Linked DNA regions of Homo sapiens: region 2 is linked to region 1. Evidence: promoter capture Hi-C in 16 types of primary human blood cells and fetal thymus (Javierre and others, 2016). All regions are on one chromosome and are shown on one strand. Each heading gives the region's core, a stretch centred on a gene start or on the middle of the fragment in contact. The rest is flanking DNA. Distances are from core to core; before and after follow the strand shown. Region 1 holds the start of PRLR (prolactin receptor). Region 2 has its middle 65 kb from the start of SPEF2.

The links. The method cuts DNA at HindIII sites, captures the fragments that hold promoters and counts their contacts. A CHiCAGO score of 5 or more calls a contact.
Region 2: a fragment that was not itself captured here is called in contact with the fragment with the promoter of PRLR in region 1 in 1 of 17 cell types (monocytes); the score reaches 5.1 in monocytes.

The regions. Positions count from the first base shown.
Region 1 is chr5:35,228,904-35,233,023 of GRCh38, forward strand. It overlaps PRLR (prolactin receptor), which reads right to left and starts at 1,584. Exons shown (of 10, transcript NM_000949.7): 1 at 1,365-1,584. The HindIII fragment of the contact is 6,146 bases long and covers 1-4,120 here.
Region 2 is chr5:35,551,249-35,555,235 of GRCh38, forward strand. No RefSeq gene overlaps it. Among named protein-coding and RNA genes, the nearest start is that of SPEF2, 65 kb to the right of the region's middle. The HindIII fragment of the contact is 8,248 bases long and covers 1-3,987 here.

The DNA.
Region 1 (4,120 bases), core at 334-2,833:
GGCTTTCAGGGAGTATCCACAAACCCTCAGGGATTGCATGTAAAATTTTATGTACATGCCATATGCATTTTGCCCCAGGAAGAGGACTCACAGCTAATTCTCAAAAGGACCTATCACCCCTAATTTTTAAGAACCACTGAAATTAATATTTTCATCTGCTCCTCTCTTGCACTATTCAGCACTTCCACCTCATTAAACATTTATATATATATTATATATATTTCTATAATATATATATATAATTAATTAATTCCCTAAACTTTGCAGAAAAAAAATCGAAGCCCAGAGAGGGTAAGTATCTTGCCCAAGTTTGCACAGCTGATGGTCAGGATTGGGATTAGCAGCACTTCCCTGGTCAAGTGAAGCACGATTTCAGGTGGGAAATCTTGCCCGGTCAACTTGACAAATGAAGACAAAGTGATCCCTCCAGACTAATAATAATGTTTTGCAACCATTTTCAAGTCCAGTCATAGAATCCCCTACGTTGCTTGTTTTCAGGGCAGTGTGGGTTGCTTCCCCAGGATACAGGTAGAGGTCACTAAAAGGATAGTTTTCTACTCAAAGAGCCAGAACTCCAGCCCTTGCCTTCCCCTGCCGTAGCACTCGGGCCGGCCCTCCAGTTACCTGAGTTTGCCTGACTTTAACCAACTCCTCTTCCCTTCCCTCCTCCCTTCTCCAGCGGGCTCTCCTTCCAGCTTCCTCCCGGGCTGCAATTCCTCTGCCTAGGTGCCTCCGTCCAGCTCCGGCTTCTGGCCCGGAGGCTGCTCATCTGCCCCTACCCCCGCTGACTTTTGGGAGGAGCAACACCTTTCAGGTCAGCATTGCTAACCCTAAACTTTCCCCGCCGGATGCCCGCGAGGCTGCTGCGGCGGCGGCTGCTGCTGATGGGAGAGTCTCGAGTCCGGCTTTCATCACATCACCTGTCTGCGCCCCTTCCCCCTCCCCGCTCTTTTTTTCTTTTCTTTTTATTTTGACGCAAATAATTTGCATTCTGAGAATCCCACAATCAACGCCGAAACTCATGCTCAAGGATACAGGTGAAGATGCCTTTGACAAAGGCGAATGCGAGCCGAGTGCAGTTTGTAAAAGCTGGGGTTGGGGGCAGTGGTGGAGGCAAAGCACCTTAAGAGTATTTTTTAGCCCCTCTGAGAAGGGACATCCGGGCGGGAGGCGGGCGGATCCCGGGCTTCCCCGCCGGCTGCCGACTCTGGCTCCTGGCTGGCGTTCTCTCCAGGAGCCCGCGCCGGTGGCCCCGCTCTCCCCTTCAGCACGCGGGCCTCGAACCCGCATCCCGGAGAGCGGCCGCCCGCGCAGCCCCTGCCGCGCGCCGTCGGAGGCGGCCTCAGCTCGCCATGGGTACTCACTTTTGCCAGGGAGCAAAGTCTGCCACATCAGTCGATGAGTACTTCCTGCACGAGGACATGAAGCTCCATTGTGTGGAAAGCTGTTTCGCGAACGGTCGGTAAAATCCAGAAAGAGGGAGAAGGAGTGAGTAAGGCAGAAAGCCCAGCCCAGAAAACCGGCGTCTGGGGATTTCAGCCTCCGCTCCCCGGTCCCCAGCCCGGTGGCTCTGTGAGAAGAAGCTCAACTCGGTGCACTTGTTCACTCTTTCTTCATGAGAGGAGGAGTCAGTGTTGCAACATTTATGTTCCTTGCTGGAGGCAAAACAGTGATTTTCTTCAGCATGCAAAACGTCCAGAGCCTGCCAGTTTTAGAAGGCGACGGAGGTAGTTGGGGGAGCTGGAATCCTGCGAAGACCTGAAGAAACAACTGATTCCCCCCAGATCGGTTTTGCATGATTAGGGCCACATATCTTTCATTGAGACTGTACCAGAAAATAGACAGACAAAACAATAATAAAAATGACTTAGTGAGTTGAATGACCTCAAAGATGATATTTTTCCAGGCAGCCAAGATGTGGAGTGTCTCCGTGTCAAATTTCTTTCCTTATTTCTGAGTAACATTGAACAGCAGCTATATTTGAGAGGTTCTCCAGGGATTTGAATTGCACCTTGCCTGAGGAGTCAGATAGAAAGGAGCAAAAGAAGATAGTCAGTGACCTAAGAAGGTTTTGCTTTTTTTTTTTTTTAATACCCAAAGCGCAAACTTCTAGTGTGCTGTGTTTATTCTCTGCCATATGAATATAATAAACATTGGCGGTGCCTAAATAGCCCCACTTCTGTTGTTTTCCACAAATAAAGAATTTATCTTTTCTAATGGGCTGCATGTTGTTCTGACTTTTCTTCTTCTTGAAACCACACACAACCGCCTTTTCTCTTGCAAAAACAAAAACCCCACATTTAACAGTGCTGAAACAAATAATAGCACCTGCCTGAATCAAATAGTTATTTCTGACTATGTATGTTGCTGGTGTCATTTGATGCCATAATAATTAATGCATCCGATTGTTACACAACCCAGAGGGCCACCAAGGAAATACTTTAAACCAAGGTTACTGAGTTTTTTTTTTTGTTTGTTTTTGTTTGTTTTTTTGAGACAGAGTCTCGCTCTGTCGCTCAGGCTGGATTGCAGTGACCCCATCTCGGCTCACTGGAACCTCTGCCTCCTGGATTCAAGCAATTGTCCTGCTTCAGCCTCCCGAGTAGGTGGGACTACAGGCGCGTGCCACCATGTCCGGCTAGTTTTTTGTATTTTTAGTAGAGATGAGGTTTCACCCTGTTAGCCAGGATGGTCTTGATTTCCTGACCTCATGATCCACCCACCTTGGCCTCCTGAAGTGCTGGGATTACAGGCGTGAGCCACTGCGCCTGGCCGTTTTTTTTTTTGTTTTGTTTTAAGTTATTGAAACATGAGGCTTTCCCCTTTGATTTGACTGCTACTCTGGATAACTGGGAAATCACAGTTAGCAGTGAGCATTTGCCAAGCCACAGGAAGCCATTGAAAATCCCATGATGCTTTGGTGATCCTTTTGGACTGGAATCCCAGAAGCAACTACCTAGGCATAATAACCTAATACTTCCTGATCAATAACACGTCCTTATTAAAACATAGACTCCACCTGGTTCTGTTAGCTGATGGGAGATGCATCTTTCACGTGCAGACCGCACATGCTTCCTGTGATGATTAGGGTATATTTACTTTCATTCATGGGTGTCCATGAAGGTACGCAACTTCTATTTATTTTCAGAACCACTGGGCGACATGAGATCCTCAGTGGCAGAATATTTCTATATGACCTTTGCAAAGCAAAGGGTCACTCAATTCTACAATAGTTGTTCTAATCAGACTATTTTAACAGTTAGTGAAATAGAAGATCACTCTGGGTAACTCCAGACTGTCAGCTCTTAGAAGGCAGGGACTTGGCTTTTCCTCCTTGTGGTTCCCACTCAGCTGCAGGCAGCTTGGCTCGTCTGTACTCCTGGCTTACAGACTGGTCGTTGCGTGGCTAATCCATACCTCACTGGTAAGAAGGGCAGGGCTGGCTTTCTGCTCTGTTGTGTAGCACACAGGCACTGTCACAAAGCCACGGGTACTCATTGTCAGTGAGTTACCTTGCCCCAGCTTTCCTGAGATGATGAAATCCGCAGTGAGCCACTATATTTTCCTTTTCTGCCCCACAGTGGTTCTTTGACTATCTCCTTCTCTCTATGCACTGATGTGCTCCAGCTTCACAGCTTCTTTACTGATGTCCTCCTCTAGTTCATTTCTGCATCTCTGTCTTAGCGGACGTGTTCGTCCTTTGCAAGCTGACTCCCTACCTGAGTCCTGGACTCCATATCCGTTTACTTCCTCCAAGACCTTGCTTCTCAGCCTGATGCAGAGGAAGAGCCCAGCACTGGCACTGGGTTAGGTCCTTGCTATTCTTGGTTTCTCACTGTAAATTGGACACAGTAGCATGTGCCTCAAAAATCCAGTCAAATGAATAATAATGGTGATGGCATATGTAAAATGTGTGCCATCTAACAAAGTCTAGAAACATCAAGTTCCTTTCTTTCCTTCCCCTTTCCTCTACCTTTCTTGCATATTTAATCTTTTCTGCCCCATAGGCTTCTTTATCTCAACCTACAACTTCTACATCTTCTTTGACCCTTTTGATGGCTTTACAGTTTAATTCACTCATTTCTTTACCTGCCAATCTTAGTGAAAGAATGACTTACGC
Region 2 (3,987 bases), core at 738-3,237, 320 kb after region 1:
TCATTGAAATTAAGTCCTCCTCTGTTTCAGGTAAGGATATTCATTCTTTGAATATGCTAAAGGAAGGATTTAGTCATGGAAGGATTGAGGAAGGGAGAAGTTTGATGAGTAAGCACTGCAAAACAAAAGCACAAAAGAGAGTATTTAATTAAGTACTATTAATAAGAGTAATTAAGTATTAATTAAGTACCATATATTTATTCTTATTTTGTTGTATTTGTTTTTGTTGTATTTGCTTAGCCATAAATTATTTGCCTAGGCCACTGTCCAGAAAAGTTTCTCCTAGGTTTTCTTCTAGAATTTTCATGGTTTCAGGTCTTACATTTAAGTCTTCCTTCCATCTTGTGTTATTTTTTTTTGGGATATGTTGAGAGATAGGGATCCAGTTTCACTCTTCTGCATGTGGCTATCCAATTTTCCAAGCACCATTTATTGAATAGGGTATCCTTTCCTCAGTGCACATCTTTGTCTTCTTTCTCAAAGATCTGTTTGTTGTAGGTATTTGGCTTTATTCCTGGGTTCTCTATTCTGTTTCACTGGTTTATGCATTTACTTTTATACCAGTATCATATTATTTTGATTACTGTAGTCTTGTAGTATAATTTGTAGCCAGGTACACACTGAATAAATTACAATCATTACTCTTAAGGTTAAAAAAGAGAGTATTTACAAGGAATAGTTAGAAAAGTTGATAAGATAAAATATAATTGAATTCTAAAAGCACAAGTGGGCCTGTGAATAATCTAAGATGGGGCAAATATTCTCATTCTGAAGAATGTAAGTTATCAATTACTTTGCCCATTTATAGCATTTAATATGACATCACTACTTCAAAGAAGCCTCAGTTGGAGACACGGAGACACCATAAAATTCAAGGTTTAATGATTATTATTTATATTATAAATATCAGGGGATCAAAACATATTTAGATAATTGGACTGTTTTATCATTCTATTATGTTACTTCTTACATTTCTTTTCATTGTTGTTTTAGTGGTAGTCATATTTAATGAGTTAGCATCTGAACCTGACTAAGGTAAGTTTAAATGAAAAGTGTTTTTACATGTTGAATATACCTGTCACCTATATTTTAGGTTCACTCTTTGCCTCTCTAGTTCTGTCTCATAGATATGAAGATGGTGTCTTAATCGAGCTAATCCTTCTTCTCTTTTCTTCGAAAGTGCTACAATTTCTCAGTAGTAACTATGGCACACCACTATGAGTTATGCTTCTGGGAGTCTATTTGCCTTCTACCAAGCTCAGTTCTCAACAGGGCAATACCTCTGCCTTTAACCCCCCTCCTGCAGGATACAGTCCAATTATTCTCAGAGCCACTCCTGGGGAAAGCAGAAGCAAAAATTTCATGGGAAATAGGGACATCTCTCATGAGAAAATCACCACTTTACAAGCCAGCAGAAATCATATGAGCACTCATTAGTTGCCCCCATGCAGTATAAACCCAGAATTCCTAAGCCCTACTTAAGAATGTGCCTAAACATAGGAATGATACAATGGACTTTGAGGGCCCAGGAGAAAAGGTGGGTGTCAAGTGAGGGATAAAAGATTGCAAATTGGGTTCAGTATATACTGCTTAGGTGATGGGTACAACAAAGTCTCACAAATCACCACTAAAGAACTTACTCATGTAACTACCACCTGTTCACAAAAAACCTGTGGGAATAAAAAATTTTTTAAAAATCCTGTTTCCCTAAAAAAACAAACAATCATAGATTACATTCATTAAAAAGACTGCACTGTTCTTTCATTTTTGTTTTTTTCCCATTATATCTATGATTACATACACCTATTCTTCTGCCATCAATTCATATATGAACACCTTTTGGTAGTTTTAATTGGTTACCTCCCATAAATAGAGACTTATGTTAGAATAAAATGAAACCAATAGATTAAGGTTAAAAAAATAAAATTAAAATGTGCCTAAACATGGTTTAGGTGAGGACCAAAAGGAAAAATAATTTTAGATTATAAGCCTCTAGTATGTCCTATAGTTAGATAGTGCAGTAGATAGATGAAGCCAACTTGCCAGGGTAGGAAGGATAGATTTGGACTCCAGCAAAAAATGGCACAAAATGTTTGAAGTGTTTACTACTGATTCTTGATTCAGTCATGATATAAGTCAAGAATTCCCAGCTGTAACCTGAAACTAGCCTGCCACTTTAGCAACAAACTTTAATTTCAAATTAGAAATCCCTTTATCCATGTGTTAGAGATCAGCACAAGTTAATAGTTGAAAACAGTTGGCCTGCTTTCACGAAAAATAAGTTTTTGTTATAATTTTTGGGAAAACATTTTGCTTTGAAGGAAGCTGTGGCATGATGTCATTTTCAGAAGGGACTTCTATAAAAGTAGCCAACAATGATTTTGTTCTCCCATTCATCAGTTATTGCTTGCTTCTTAGATAACCCTCTTTAGTCAGTTGTACCTGGCCTTTTCATGGGTTCAGGTACCCAAAGCTGTTGCCTTCACTCTACAAATCCTATCCTGCCAGTACCAACAATGCTCTCTCAAATCATTTTTGCTGTCTTTCAACTCAATATGGTTAGTAAGATTTGAAAAACAAAATGAAATTAGGTAAATGACATTTTAGCAATCAGAGATTATTAATATATTTATGATCACACAAAGTTATTGCTAATATTTTTGCTGAATAGTCAATACTATGAAACATACAGTGCAACAGGAAGGAAACAATGGTCTCTGCATACAGAGATTGTGGCATTCGTTGGTGTTTTATCTATTGCTAAAAAAGAAATTACCTCAAAATTTAGCATTTTAAAACAACCATCTTATTTTGCTTATAATTTTGTGGTCAGGAATTTTAAAAAAGCTCAGCTAGGGATTCTCACTTGTTGTCTCTCAAAAAGTTGCAGTTGGATATTGGCTGGGACCCCAGTTATCTGCTCAACTTCCAAAATGGCTCGCTCAGCTGAGGCTGTCAACTAGAGTAATTGAACATAATGTCTTCCATATGACCTGGGTTTCTCACAGCATGGCTGCTTGGTCCTGAGAGCAGTATCCCAACGGGAAGCATTTAGACATCATGGATTTTAGTGGGCAAGGCAGGAACTACACAGTTTCTTCAGACCTAGCCCTAGGAGTTACACAATCTCATTTTCCCTGCGTTCTATCACCTGAAAGGCCACTCCAGTTGCAAAAAAAGAGGGGCATTTGGCTCTCTAATGTTAAAGAAATAAAAAGACGAATGTCAAATGATTTGTGGCTGTCTTATTCTGCCAAAACTACAGAAAATCCAGCTTTTTAGAGTGCCAACAAGAATTTCTCTCAGAAAAAAATATAAAAATCAGTGGAAGATTTTATTTTAAAGACTTCTACTTATCTACTCATAGATTAAAAAAATTAGTGAAGTGATTCTTTCTGCTGGGCTCATAGGAAAAGAAAATAGTATCTTTTTTTCCACATTATTCTGTTTACAGCTGTGCACATAGTGAAATTCTTGCAAGTATCAGAAAGATTTCTTTATTAACATTAATTTCCAGAAGAAAATTTTCCATCTGCTTTTTTAAACTAGGGTTATTTTCCACCGGATGTGTTTAGTATAAGTAGTCAGGAGGTATCATGTTATTTTTCTGAATTGTTCTAGTTCATATATTCATATTTTTTAAAGTATGGTTTTGAAAGAACCCATTTTTATCCAAAAGAAGTTCTGGTAGTATAAAATGTCATCCATATACTATGATGTAGTCAGTGCTTATATAAAGGAATCTGTGTTTTTGTTTAATATGATCTGGTAGATAAAAAGAAGAAATCTTATTACTTGAACAGCATCTACTTCTGACAGGTAATATGTGAGCAATTACCTGTTTGTGACTTTTTTTCCCACCTTTGAATTTTTCAGGAAAACTTCAACTTTGTCTTAATTTGTTTAGTTTGAAATCATGCAGCTGCATTTGCCTCCTTGTCAAAGAAAACAAAATTTCTTTCAGGTTGGGCAGAAAAGCATTATACC